2 separate regions of the Homo sapiens genome follow, and region 1 is linked to region 2. The links are contacts of gene promoters, found by promoter capture Hi-C in human tissues and cell types (Jung and others, 2019). All regions are on one chromosome and are shown on one strand. Each heading gives the region's core, a stretch centred on a gene start or on the middle of the fragment in contact. The rest is flanking DNA. Distances are from core to core; before and after follow the strand shown.

Region 1 (5,956 bases), core at 1,675-4,174, 1.2 Mb before region 2:
ATAAGGCCACCAGTCACATGGGATTAAGGGCCCACCCTGCTCCAGTATGACCTCATCTTAACTAATGCCATCTGCCACAACCATTTTCCAAATAACATCCTATGCTGAGGTCCTGGGGGTTAGGATGTGATCATGTAGATTTTGATGGGACAGTTCTTTATTTTCTTTTATATTTTAGAGACAGGGTCTTGCTCTGTCACCCAGGCTGGAGTGCAGTGGTGTGATCATAGCTCACTGCAGCCTCGATCTCTTGGGCTCAAGTGATCCTTCTGCCTTGGGTTTCCGAGTAGCTGCAATTACAGGTGCACACCACCACACCTGGCTAATTTTTATATTTTTTGTAGAGACGGGGCTGGGTGCTGTGGCTCACCCCTGTAATTCCAGCACTTTGGGAGGCCGAGGCAGGTGGATCACCTTAGGTCAGGAGTTTGAGACCAGCCTGGCCAACATGGAGAAACCCCGTCTCTACTAAAAATACAAAATTAGCCAGGCGTAGTGGTGCATGCCTGTAATCCCAGCTACTTGGGAGGCTGAGGCAGGAGAATTGCTTGAACCCGGGAGGCCGAGGTTGCAGTGGACTGAGTTCGTGCCACTGCACTCCAATCTGGGTGACAGAGCAAGACTCCGTCTCAAAAAAAAAAAAAAAAAAAAAAGAGAGAGAGAGAGAGAGACAGGGTCTTGCTATGTTTCCCAGGCTGGTCTCAATCTCCTGGGCTCAAGTGATCCTCCTGCCTCAGCCTCCCAAAGTGTTGGGACTACAGGCATGAGCTACTGTGGCTGGCCAATTGCAGACAGATGGAACTGTGGCCAGCCACTTCACCAGTGAAGTCCCAAACACCCCTCTGCAGGCATGATAAGCTAGGGTAGTTCTTATCTTTTCCTGATTCCTGTTCTCTGTGTGTTTAGTGGGGACCACAGCAGGCAGGGTGGGGTGTTGGTGGAATTTGGGATAAGTGGAGTCTGGGCAGGCCTGGAGCTCTCTGTCTGCCTTCTGGGCCCGTGTTGGCTGACCCTGTTGCCCCCTCTGCCCTGCTTTGGCTGAGCTGAATTATTTCTTGGTCCTTCCCTTCTGGGGGCTTCTCGCTTAACCTCCTTTGTTGTCCCTGATAAAGGGGCCTTGTTAGCCCGCACCTTCCCTCCTTCGTCACTTGACTTCTGCCTGCTCATTCTTTGTACCTTAGTTTTAGCGTCACCTCCTCCAGGAAGTCTTCTTTGATTTCTCCTCCTCCCTAGGTCTCCTCTAGGCTCCCACAGCTGCCTGTGTTCCCTGCATGACAGCTCTGCTTTATACTGGGCACAACTTTCCCTCTTTCTTCACTCATCTGCTCTGGCTCATCTTTTGAGTTTCAGCTTAAGTGTCACCTCCTCCAGGAAGCCTCCTCTGATTTCCTCTCCTCCCTAGGCCTCCTCTGGGCTTCTCCCAGCTGCCTTTGTGTCCTCTATCCCAGCTCCCATCACCCCTGGTCACACAATCCACCTCCTCCTTTGGACTTCGAGCTCCGTGTCGGTGGATAGTGTGGCTTTGCTGGGGTCCCGGCTGTGTCCCCAGCACCCACCACACGGCTGGCACACAGTAGGTGCTCAGTGACCCAGCAGCACACTCAGAAACTCCCTTTCTAGCCGGGCGCGGTAGCTCACGCCTGTAATTTACAGCTACTCAGGAGGCTGAGACACAGGAATTGCTTGAACCCAGGAGGTGGAGGTTGCGGTGAGCTGAGATCAAGCCACTGCACTCCAGCCTAGGTGACAGAGACTACATCTCAAAAACAAACAAACAAACAAACAAACAAACAGAATTCTCACATGCTGCTGGCAGGGAGAGTGCTTGATTCTTTATCATTATATCTGAGGAAACTGAGACTCTGAGAGGTGAAGCGACTTGCCCAAAGCCACACAGCTGGGAAATGGAGGAGTTGGGATTTGAGCCCAGGCTCTTAATCGGCACCAATGCCACTTCTCACTTGGGACAGAAAGGAAGCCCTGACTCCTTAGGCAGCTGTACGGAGCCTGGGATGATAACGTGCTGAGAGCCAGGGCTACTGTCTGCTGCACCCTGGGGCTCAGTCTCCCCATCTGTACAAAGGGACGTTCCTTAGGTACCTCCAGCCCTGAGACACTGGGTTTTAACTTTAAATTTCTGATGAACAACAAATACTTTTTTAGTATAAGTATGCCCCAAATATGAATAAAGATAAATATAAATACCTGCCACCGACCCCTGCACAAACCGCAGGTTCCAGACTACAAGTCCCACAACCCACTGCGGCCTCCCTTAGGAACTGACTATCATGACTTTCTATTTTTCATTCATTCATTCAAAAATGGTATAGGCCACCCGCCGTGCGCCAGGTCTTGTGCTAGATGCCGGGGATACATCATATGCACAAAACAGACAAAAGTTTTTGCCTTCGTGGAGTTTGACATCTACATCCTCGGGAGTTTTAAGTGATTTTTGTTTTTCTCAGCAATTTCTGCCAGGACGACTACAGTTCCCGTGACCCTTTGTGTGTTTGACGGGACTACAACTCCCAGAAGACCTAGCGCGCCAGGCAGGCACTTCCTTTTCTCTTTATCCCCAACTTCCTTCCAGGTCGCAAGGTCACGTCCTGTCCCCACCTTTCGCCCCTCACCCTAGCTCCCCCAACGCCAAAGACAAGGTTAAGAAAGTGATATCGCGAAATAGTTTTTTAAAGCATTTTATTGCATTTTATGACTTGGAGTTTATGTGAAACCTCAACGGTATTAGCCGAACAGCCTGCCGCACCTTCCGGGAGTTCCAGAGTGGGCCTACAACTCCCACAGGGCTCCGCGAGCGCCGGACGGACGGACTACAATTCCCGACAGGCAGCGCGGCTGGCGGGGCGGTTCGCCGCGGTGCCCACAGGACCTCAGGGCGAGTGCGGGCTGCCCCGCGCGGCGCCCGCAGGACCCCGGCGGCTACCCATGCCGAGGTGAGTCCGCGGGAGCCGCCGCCGCCGCCGTCCCGTCCCAGCTGCCGCCCCGCGCGGCCCCGCCGCCGGCCAGGATGCTGGAGGAAGCGGGCGAGGTGCTGGAGAACATGCTGAAGGCGTCTTGTCTGCCGCTCGGCTTCATCGTCTTCCTGCCCGCTGTGCTGCTGCTGGTGGCGCCGCCGCTGCCTGCCGCCGACGCCGCGCACGAGTTCACCGTGTACCGCATGCAGCAGTACGACCTGCAGGGCCAGCCCTACGGTGCGTGTCCCCGGCCCACCCTCGGGGCTCCCCGGGCTCCCCGGCCACGCCACTCCGGCCCGGCGATCCCCAGGCCGATCCCTAGCTCCGGCCTGGGCTGCCCGACCCATGCTCAGGCCCCAGGCGAGGCAGAGCCCTGCCGCCCTGGACCCCCGGGCGCCCTGGAATCCCTGCTCTCCTTGCCTAGCGCCCAGGGACCCCCCGCGCTCGCTCCCACAGCCCCCGGCCCCTGCCTAGGTCTCCCTGCCCCGGAACCCATGGCCGGGCCAAGCGTCCCGCGTCCCTGGAGCCCTAAGTCCCCTCTCTCCTGTCCCCAGCTGGGCCGGCGTCTGCCTGCCTTGCCGAGTTTCTCCCTCCTGGGCCCCCTCCGCCCCTTAGGCTTCCTGGTCCGGGCTCACTTGAGCAGACGCTCCCGTCCTGACCTCCAGCTCCCAGGGTCCTGTTCTGGAGACCATCTGGTTGGTCTCTGGATTCACTGGGTCACGTCCGTGTTCCCAGGCCTCTCGCCTTTAGCTGACTGCGTTTGGAGTTAAAGGTCCCTGCACTGATTTCTGCCAGGCTGAGCCACCCGACGCGGTGGTCCAGCATTCCCCACCCCCTCCCACGGCCCTGGGTGCCAAGTGCATTTTGTCCAGTGCCCAAATTCAACTCCCCTGAATTTTCTCGCTCTAGTCACCGGCCCCCACGTCAAGGGCACATTTGTCCCCAGACCCCTGACGCTCTCTGGTCCCAGTTCGTGAGTCATGTTTCAGAATCTGCTAGCCCAGCTTCCCTGGTCTCCTCCCACGTCCCCAGTTCAGTCCACTCGCCTGGGGTTCCCTTTGACCCCCTTTCTGTCCCGCCTTTGATGCATACCCACGCCCTCAGCTCAGCCTCCTCACACCCACTTCCCAGAACCCCACTTGTTCCATCTTTCCAGGATTTCCTCTTCCCTTTCCAAATTCGCACCCCCTTGCCCTTGCATTCTGCAAGTCTCCCACTCAACAGCCTCGCCCCCTCCCGTCGTGGCCCTGACCCCAGTGTCTAGACCATTCCACATCCCCTTGTCTTTGCCTGGCTATAGCTGTCCCTGACATTCCAGAACCTGGTCCCTGGTTTTTCTTCTTTTCAGCCTGGCCCCTCAGGTCCCTGGAAGTCAAGGCCTGGCCTTCCCTGTGAAGGAGTCCCGTCCGCTTGTTCTCCTGGCCCCCTTAGTTCCCAGCCCGGATTCTCTTGGATTGGTCCCTCTCGTCACATCTCAGGCTCAACCTGAGGCGCGGGGACCCCCAGCTTCTGCCAGCCCTTGGGGAGCCCATCTCTGGAGATGGAACCAGACTTTGGCCTCAGGTCCCATTTTGCCCCAGAGTTACGATTTTTTTACTTAGAGCCATTGTTGTCAACCGAGGGGACGCTGGGTGATGTCTGGGGACATCTGTGGTTGTCACGACCACGGGTGCTCCTGGCATGGAGTGGGTGGAGGCCAGGGACGCTGCTCAATTCCCTGTAGTGCCCAGGACGGCCCCACCCCAGAGAACGATCCGGCCCTAATGTCCACAGTGTCCAGGGGAAGCGCCCTGGGGCCACAGTGGTGGTGTATAAACCCAAGGCCCAGGCTCTGGAGGGTGGGAGTGGAAGGCCAGAGGCTCCTCATGCAGTGACCGCGTTTTCCGTGCTGCTTGGGATTTTCCCGGGGGAAGGGTCCTGACGGGCACCATCCTGTAGAATCGCCTCCATCTTTGCTGCCTGGCACAGGAGCCAGCAGCCACAGGAGGCTGCCGAGCCCCCAAAGCGTGGCCTGTGCAACCGGGGGGCAGGATTTTCAGCGCTGCTTGAGGGTAATAAACGCAAGTAGCCACGCGTGCCTGCGGCTCTCATAGCGGCTTCCGTGGGGTTTCCAGGGCAGTCTGCACCCCAAAGACCCCACTCCTAGAGCTCGAGATACCCTGTTCACACTCTTGGCATCTCCTGCCTGGTCCTCCAGCTCACCCGGCCTCCCTCCAGCCCCCCGGGCAGGTGTGATCTGGTGGCTGCTACACTGTCCCTGGGCAGGTGTGGGCCCCCTTTCTCTCCCCAAGAACCCACCCAGGGAATGCATGTTGGCGGCTCCCTACACTGTCCCTGGGCAGATGTGGGCCCCCTTTCTCTCCCCGCAAGTCCGCCCAGGGAATGCATGTTGTCTATCGAGTGAGCAGATGTCTCCCCGTTCCACGGCCAGACGGACGCCCTCTCCAGCCTCCTAGAGTCCCTCCCAGTTTCCTTGTGTGGCCTCTTGTTCTTCGCAGCCTCCTGACGTTCACCCCGTTTTCCTTCCCCGATTCCCTCGGCCCCTTTTTGGTGGCGCCTCCCTCCCTTTCCCCTGCAGTCCTTTCTCTCTTTCCTCGCTTCTCTGGGGCCTTTGCCCACAATCCTGGGTTTTCTTCTGAGTCTTCTTTTCACTGGCCTCCTCCCCTGTACCCTCCTCCCTGGACCCCAGCTTTTCTTTCTCCTAGTGAGGAAGCTGGACGCAGCTTTCCCTGTATGTGGCATTCGCCCAGCTGGTCCGTGGGCTCCCGGGGTGAGCGGAGGAGCCCATGGGGCAGCCGCCCTGCCTCAGCCTCCATGCTCCTCATCTGCGCCCTGGGAAGCACAGTCCAGCTCTCGCAGGGTAGGCGAGGCCCAGCCAGCACACCCCTCTGTGTCACTCTGGCCGCCCCTGAGAGACTGGGGGTGGTTTGGGCCAGAGCCCTGCCGAGGACAGGCCCTTGAGAAGCCCCAGCGTGCTGCCTTTG
Region 2 (6,355 bases), core at 461-2,960:
TGCAGCATTCTACTTCTGGGAATTCATCCTATAAAACTAATCCCACTGGTGAGCAAAGATATTCACTGGCTATTTATTGTAGTAATGGTAACAGAAAATTCCGGTAAACAATAGAGATATCTATCAACTGACAACTGGTTAAATAAATTATGGTATATGTCATGGAATGAAATACAATGTACCCATTAAAAAGAGCCAAGTAGGCCAGGCAGGTGGCTTACGTCGATAATCCCAGCATGTTGGGAAGCCGAAGCAGGCGGATTACTTGAGGCCAGGAGTTCGAGACCACCCTGGGGCACATGGAGAAACCCTGTCTCTGCTAAAATTACAAAAAGTAGCCGGGCGTGGTGGCGCATGCCTGTAGTCCCAGCTACTGGGGAGGCTGAGGCAGGAGAATTGCTTGAACACAGGAGGCGGAGCTTGCAGTGAGCCGAGATTGCACCACTGCCCTCCAGCTGGGGCGACAGAGCATGACTCCCTCTCAAAAAAAAAAAAAAAAAAAAAAATCCAAGAAGTGTGGAGTATGGTCTAGAGCAGTAGTCCTGGGGGACAGGAAAGGAAGGGAGGAAGGAAAGAAGAGAAGGGAGGGAGGGAGAGAGGCAAGGAGGGAGGGAGGAAGGAAGGAAAGAAGGAAGGAAGGAACGAAGGGAGGGAAGGAGGACTGATTCTAAGGGGACACACGGTGATGTCTCAAGATATTTTTGGTTGTCACGACTTGGGGGTGCTCCTGGCCCGGAGTGGGTGGAGGCCAGGGGCGCTGCTCAGCACCCCGCAGTGCCCAGGACGGCCCCACCACGGAGAACAATCCAGCCCCAGATGTCAACAGTGCCGACGGAGGGGGAGAAATCCCGCTCCAGTGTGATCTCCAAGCAATGAAAAACACAGCACACAGGATTCTGTGGCATATGCTATCACAGGGTACGTGTTTTTAAAGGAAAGGCACACACGTATCTTAGGAAAGGGACATACGGAGTCGATGACAGTCGCTTGTCTCTGGGGAGAAGGGCTGGCTGCCCGAGGAGCAGAGAGGGGAAACTGACTTCTTCCTCTACCTTTTCAACTTTGTACCTTGCCCATCCAGAGGATTTTGAACGTAACTGCTCTAGACGCAACTTTTCCCTGGCTCTGGGTTATCTGGCAAGAGTCCTGTGTCGACAGCCTCGGGACTCCTCTCTTCCCCTTCTCTCCCCGCACCCCGCCTTTGCAGCGGAGAGAAGGAGGGGAGAGGTCCGCGTCCCTGGGCAGCCCAGGGTGCCTCTCCCCTCCTCCCAGGGGCTCTGTCCCCGCTTCTGGAGCCCGCATGGCGGGCAGGGCCTGGGCCACCTCGTCGCCCCCGTCCGTCCCTTGGTCTTCCCACCTGGCAGGGGACACGCGCCAACGTCCCCACCTCGGTCCCCCCGGCCCCCTCCCGGGCCAGGTCGGGCCTGGCTCCCTCATCCGGGCAGCCCGGGGCCCGGTACTCGGCTCCCGCCTGGGCCTGCGCTCACCTGGCTCGCCTTGTAGAACTGCTTCTTCAGCCCCGCCACCGACATGCTGCCGCCCGCCGCCGAGCCTCCCGCCCGGACCGCGCCAGCGACAGGCTCCCGGGCGCCGCCGACCCTCTGCGCGCCTCAGCAGTCCCCGTCGGCGCCGCCTCCGCCACCCGCTTGCCAGCTCCGCGCCCGCCCCGGCGCCGCCTCAGCCGCTCGCGCGCCCGCGCGGCCAGGATATTACATGGCAACCGCACGCTTCCGGTGCCGGCCCCCGCGCGCGCCCCCGGCCCCCGCGCGCGCCCCCGGCCCCGTCTGCGCACGCGCGCCCTCTGCCGGCTGAAGAGCGCACGTGCACATTGTCTACCGCGGGAGAGGCCGCCTCTGTCAGTGAGTTGAGCGGGGCGAGCCTAGAGGGGCCGTAGCAGTTGCAGCGCCCCCTGGAGTCGTGGAGGTGACCCTAACGTCTTGGAAAACGCGCTTAGTTTAAACCTGGCCAGGGAGGTTGGGAAGTAGAAGGGGCCCCTGCTTACGATTCTTCAGATTCCTGTTTACTCATCTTAGCTAAATCCAGTTCGTCTAAGTGTTCAGCCCCCTCCCATTTTTATTTATTTATTTATTTTTTTTTTGAGACGGAGTCTTGCTTTGTCTCCCAGGCTGGAGTGCAGTGGCGTGATCTCGGCTCACTGCAACCTCCGCCTCCCGGGTTCAAGCGATTCTCCTGCCTCAGCCTCCCAAGTAGCTGAGATTACAGGCGCGCACCACCATGCTAGGCTAATTTTTGTATTTTTAGTAGAGACAGTGTTTCGCCATGTTGGCCAGGCTGGTCTCGAACTCCTGACCTCAGGTGATCCAACCCCCAACCCCCCCACCAAATCCAGCCTCCCAAAGTACTGGTCTCACAGGTATGAGCCACCGTGCCCGGCCACCTCTCTTCCTCTCTCTCTCTGTCCTGTGTTCATCCATTCAGTTGCCCACGTGACACATCTAGACATCTAGGTCTGTCTTCATGCCTTGACCATACTTTCCACCAGTCCTCCCCTCCAATTCTTCCTTGTCATGGCAGCCAGAAAGATGCTTCTAGAATGCAATTCAGGGCCAGGGGCGGTGGCTCACGCCTGTAATCCCAGCACTTTGGGAGGCCTAGGTGGGCGGATCACGAGGTCAGGAGATTGAGACCATCCTGGCTAACACGGTGAAACCCTGTCTCTACTAAAAAATAGAAAAAATTAGCCGGACGTGGTGGCGGGCGCCTGTGGTCCCAGCTACTAGGGACTCCGTCTCAAGAAAAAAGAAAGAAAGAAAGGAAGGAAGGAAGGAAGGAAGGAAGGAAGGAAGGAAGAAAGAAAGAAAGAAAACCTGTTTCTACACTCACAGGCTGACACTGAAGTTCTCTGTTTTGTGTGAGGCTTTTAATCTGCTTGATCTACACAGTTCAATCAAATATTTATACATTCACTCAAACATTTATTGACCTGGTAAATATGATCAGTTACTAACAGGTCCTGGGGTTCCAGTGAGGAATGAGTCCTACCCTCGCCAGAACTAATGACAAAAGGCAGAAATTAATTCATTAGTCAAATAACAAACTAATAAATAGACACAGCTGTAATTGCTTTAAGGAAAAGAACAGTGTTGTAGGCACTTGATATTGTCAGGGTTGGGGAAGAAAAGGCTTCCTGGGGTGACGATCTAAGATCTGAAAAGTATAAATTAGCCAGGAAAAGAGCTGCGAAAAGATTGTTCTAGGCAGAGAAAACAGCATGTGCCAATTTCCTGAGGATTAAACCAGAAACGATCCATTTCGTCCATTTCGTTCACTCATTCTACATGTTATTTACTGAATGTCAAATACTTCCGAAGCGCTCCCCAGACTTCGTTTTATTGTTCTTGTAGAAAGCAATTTATAATTTTAATTGCTGTTGCTATATTTAGCCGATGTCCCATTAGGATAAACTCAAAACTCCAGGTTCCTCATCTAAATCCCACTTTCAAGTTGTCATCTGCGCCTTGCGTAAAATGTTCTGGTGACGTAAGAGCCTGGGCCTCCCTCCTCTTAGGGACTATCCCACGCGATCAGCCAGTCGCAGCGCAGAGCAATGAGCTTGACACCTCCTTCCTCCAATCGCAGGGCAGCTCCTCCCAGCCAATGACAGGCCTCCGAGGGGAAGCCCAGTCCCTCGCGGATATGTCAATGGGCGAGCCCTGGGAGGAATGGAAGTCACGGATCTCGCGAGGATGCCCCCGGCGCCCCTCAATTCCCGAGGCGGGCCGTCACGTGACCCGGGCTCGCCCAATTGGCGCGCGGACTGCGGGGGTCGCCGCGGTTCCCGCCAAATACGAGCGCGGCGGCCGCGGCGGCAGCAGCGGCGCGGGCGGGAGGGCGAAGAGCAGCGGCCGCCTGAGGGGAGCCCGCGCCTCCGCCGCCTGAGAGGAGGTCGAGCTGCCGCCGGGGCGATGCTGGAGGAGCTGGAGTGCGGGGCGCCCGGCGCCAGGGGAGCCGCCACAGGTCGGTTCGGGCCCGCGCCGAGGGGAAGGGGGGGCGCGGCGCGCGGCCTGGACGGGCCGAGGCGGCGATGGGAGGCGGACGGGCCTCCGGGCGCCAAGCCTGGTCCTGCGGGCCGGGCGTTCACCCCCTGGGGCCTTCTCATCCCCAGCGAGGGCCTGGCGTCCCCAAGGGCACCCTTGTTGACGTTATTGTTGTAGCCGCGACCATATTGTTTGTTTCCGGCGCTTTTGCGTCAGTTCGTCCCTCCAGGACTCTCTGGGGCGGTGGGTCGGAGGGGCCGAGAGGGGAAACTGAGGCCCAGGGAAGCGAAAGGGCTTGCCCTGCAGGTTACTGGATGCGTTTGTGTCCCTTGACCATGTTGGACCTTGCAGCGGGTGGGGAAACTGAGGCCCAAGGTCGCACGGGCTCGGGGACCAGTACCGATGCCGCTGAGGGTCGGGGTAAGCCCGGGTAAGAAGAGGCCCAGATGGTAGAGATGGCCAGGAGGGTGGGACTCCCGAGTTCTTGCTCCTTCCTGATATGCACCGTGACTTCCTCCTCCGTGTGCCTTGGAATGGGGTCTTTGGAGCCCACCACAGGCCTCCTGAAACGTGGGAGGGTGAACCAAGGAAGACCAGACTGTCCCTCTCCCTTGCTGGACTCTGCATTACATAACGCTTTGGCAGCACTTGGCATTACGCTTTGGCACATAGTAGGTGCTCAGTAAATAACGTGAACGAATGAAGGGCTAGAATGGACGCCAGTCCAGTTTCTCAGCCTCAGCAGTGTTGATATTTGTTGCCGTCCTGGGCACGGCACTGCAGGGTGTTAAGCATCATCCCTGGCCTCCGCCTTTTGCAGGCCAGTAGCAGCCCCTCTCACCATGCCTTAGTAACAGCCAGAAATACCATTGCCCTGTGTCCCCTATGGGGCAGATTCCGCCTTGGCTGAAAATCATGGCTGTAGTTCCTTCTAGCCTGTGGGATTTCCCGGAGACATAAAATTAATATAAAGTTGGTACTGTCGTGGAGCTGTGATGTTTTAAGTCAGGATGTTTAACTTTATTTATTTATTTATTTTGAGACTGAGTCTTGCTCTGTTGCCCAACCTCTGCCTCTCTGGTTCAAGCGATTCTTCTGCCTCAGCCTCCCAAGTAGCTGGGATTACAGGCCTGCACCACCATGCCTGGCTAATTTTTGTATTTTTTAGTAGAGACGGGGTTTCACCATGTTGGGCAGGCTGGTCTCGAACTTCTGACCTCAGGTAATCCACCTGCATTGGCCTCCCAAAATGCTGGGATTACAGGCATGAGCCACCATGCCTGGCCAGGATATTTAACTTTAAAAAAAAAAATCGCTACTCGCTAGGACCATGCTATCATGAAAGGAAAGTATATTTTAGTGCCAAATAAAATTAGAAAGGATGTAATCGCAGAATAAAGAGCAGTTAGTAACTTTATACACACATATGTGTTAATCGTGTGTATCTTTGGATCTCTGGATTGGGAGTGTCCCGTTTTATATACAAGATTTTTTAATGAGGGTGGGTCCTGTTTTTAATGAGGTTGTTTCTGTTCCACTTGCACCAAAGCTAGTGACTCAAAGCCACACAAATAGATTTTTGTGATTGTCTCGAAAATAAAGTTAAGTGACTAAAAATCATATCCTTCAGTTAGGGGGTAGAAATCCATGGCTTTTGGTAAGTGGACACTTGAGAATGATACTGTCTTTATTTCTTTGAAGTGGCTAGAAAGGAAACATGAATTTTCTCAGTACCTTTTCTTATTCACTAAGCTTGGGGCGGTGGGTGAGGGGTGGTTTCATGTATGGACGATGGAGTTTTTTAGGAAGCCCCAGTCTGCTTTTAAAAAGTACTCACTTTTATGTAATGCTTACAAAACATACGTAGATTAACCAAAATAACTAAACTAGGTTTTGCCAAGCCAGATCTCCTGGTAAGTGTGAGCTTCCTAAACTTACTCTGTTTAAGGTATTTATCTAAAGACTCGCTTCTATTTATGATCACTGCTGCATCTGCTTTGATATTATTAGATGGTTTCTTGAGATTTTTTTTGCAGGAAAATATTTTGTCTTATCTTCTCTTGACAGCACTTCAGCTCCTGCCTGGCAAGCTCAAAGTGCTTTAAATTGTGGTACCTTCATGAATTCTCTTTAAAAAGAAAAGGATCCCTTTTCTGATTTTACAGATTTGGTGGTGGTATGGGGGCTTGGGTTGGAGGAAGATGTTTGGGGATCATGGGAATGAAATAGGTAATCTGATGTTTTCTCTCCTCCCTACTTTTACTCATTCCACTTTCATTTCATGAAACAGTTCCGGTTACTCTCTTAGTTGGCTTTCTGATTTATTCCAGACCCTAACCAGGTACCATAGGTGCAGC

Evidence for each region. Contacts are between HindIII fragments. The study calls those that stand out against the background at their distance.
Region 1: a contact is called between the fragment with the promoter of NCLN here and the fragment with the promoter of SH3GL1 in region 2, in 1 of the 25 tissues and cell types used here (lymphoblastoid cells).

What each region holds. Positions count from the first base shown.
Region 1 is chr19:3,183,006-3,188,961 of GRCh38, forward strand. NCLN (nicalin) reads left to right here and starts at 2,925. Exons shown (of 15, transcript NM_020170.4): 1 at 2,925-3,209. The coding sequence starts at 3,026. RefSeq lists enhancers at 2,003-2,885, 2,192-2,331 and a silencer at 2,842-3,411. The HindIII fragment of the contact is 11,170 bases long and covers 1,372-5,956 here.
Region 2 is chr19:4,398,837-4,405,191 of GRCh38, forward strand. It overlaps SH3GL1 (SH3 domain containing GRB2 like 1, endophilin A2), which reads right to left and starts at 1,711. Exons shown (of 10, transcript NM_003025.4): 1 at 1,488-1,711. The coding sequence starts at 1,532. It overlaps CHAF1A (chromatin assembly factor 1 subunit A), which reads left to right and starts at 3,804. Exons shown (of 15, transcript NM_005483.3): 1 at 3,804-3,978. The coding sequence starts at 3,927. RefSeq lists enhancers at 1,072-1,901, 3,564-4,261, 4,262-4,957 and silencers at 1,190-1,239, 1,300-1,809, 3,772-4,051. The HindIII fragment of the contact is 35,642 bases long and covers 1-6,355 here.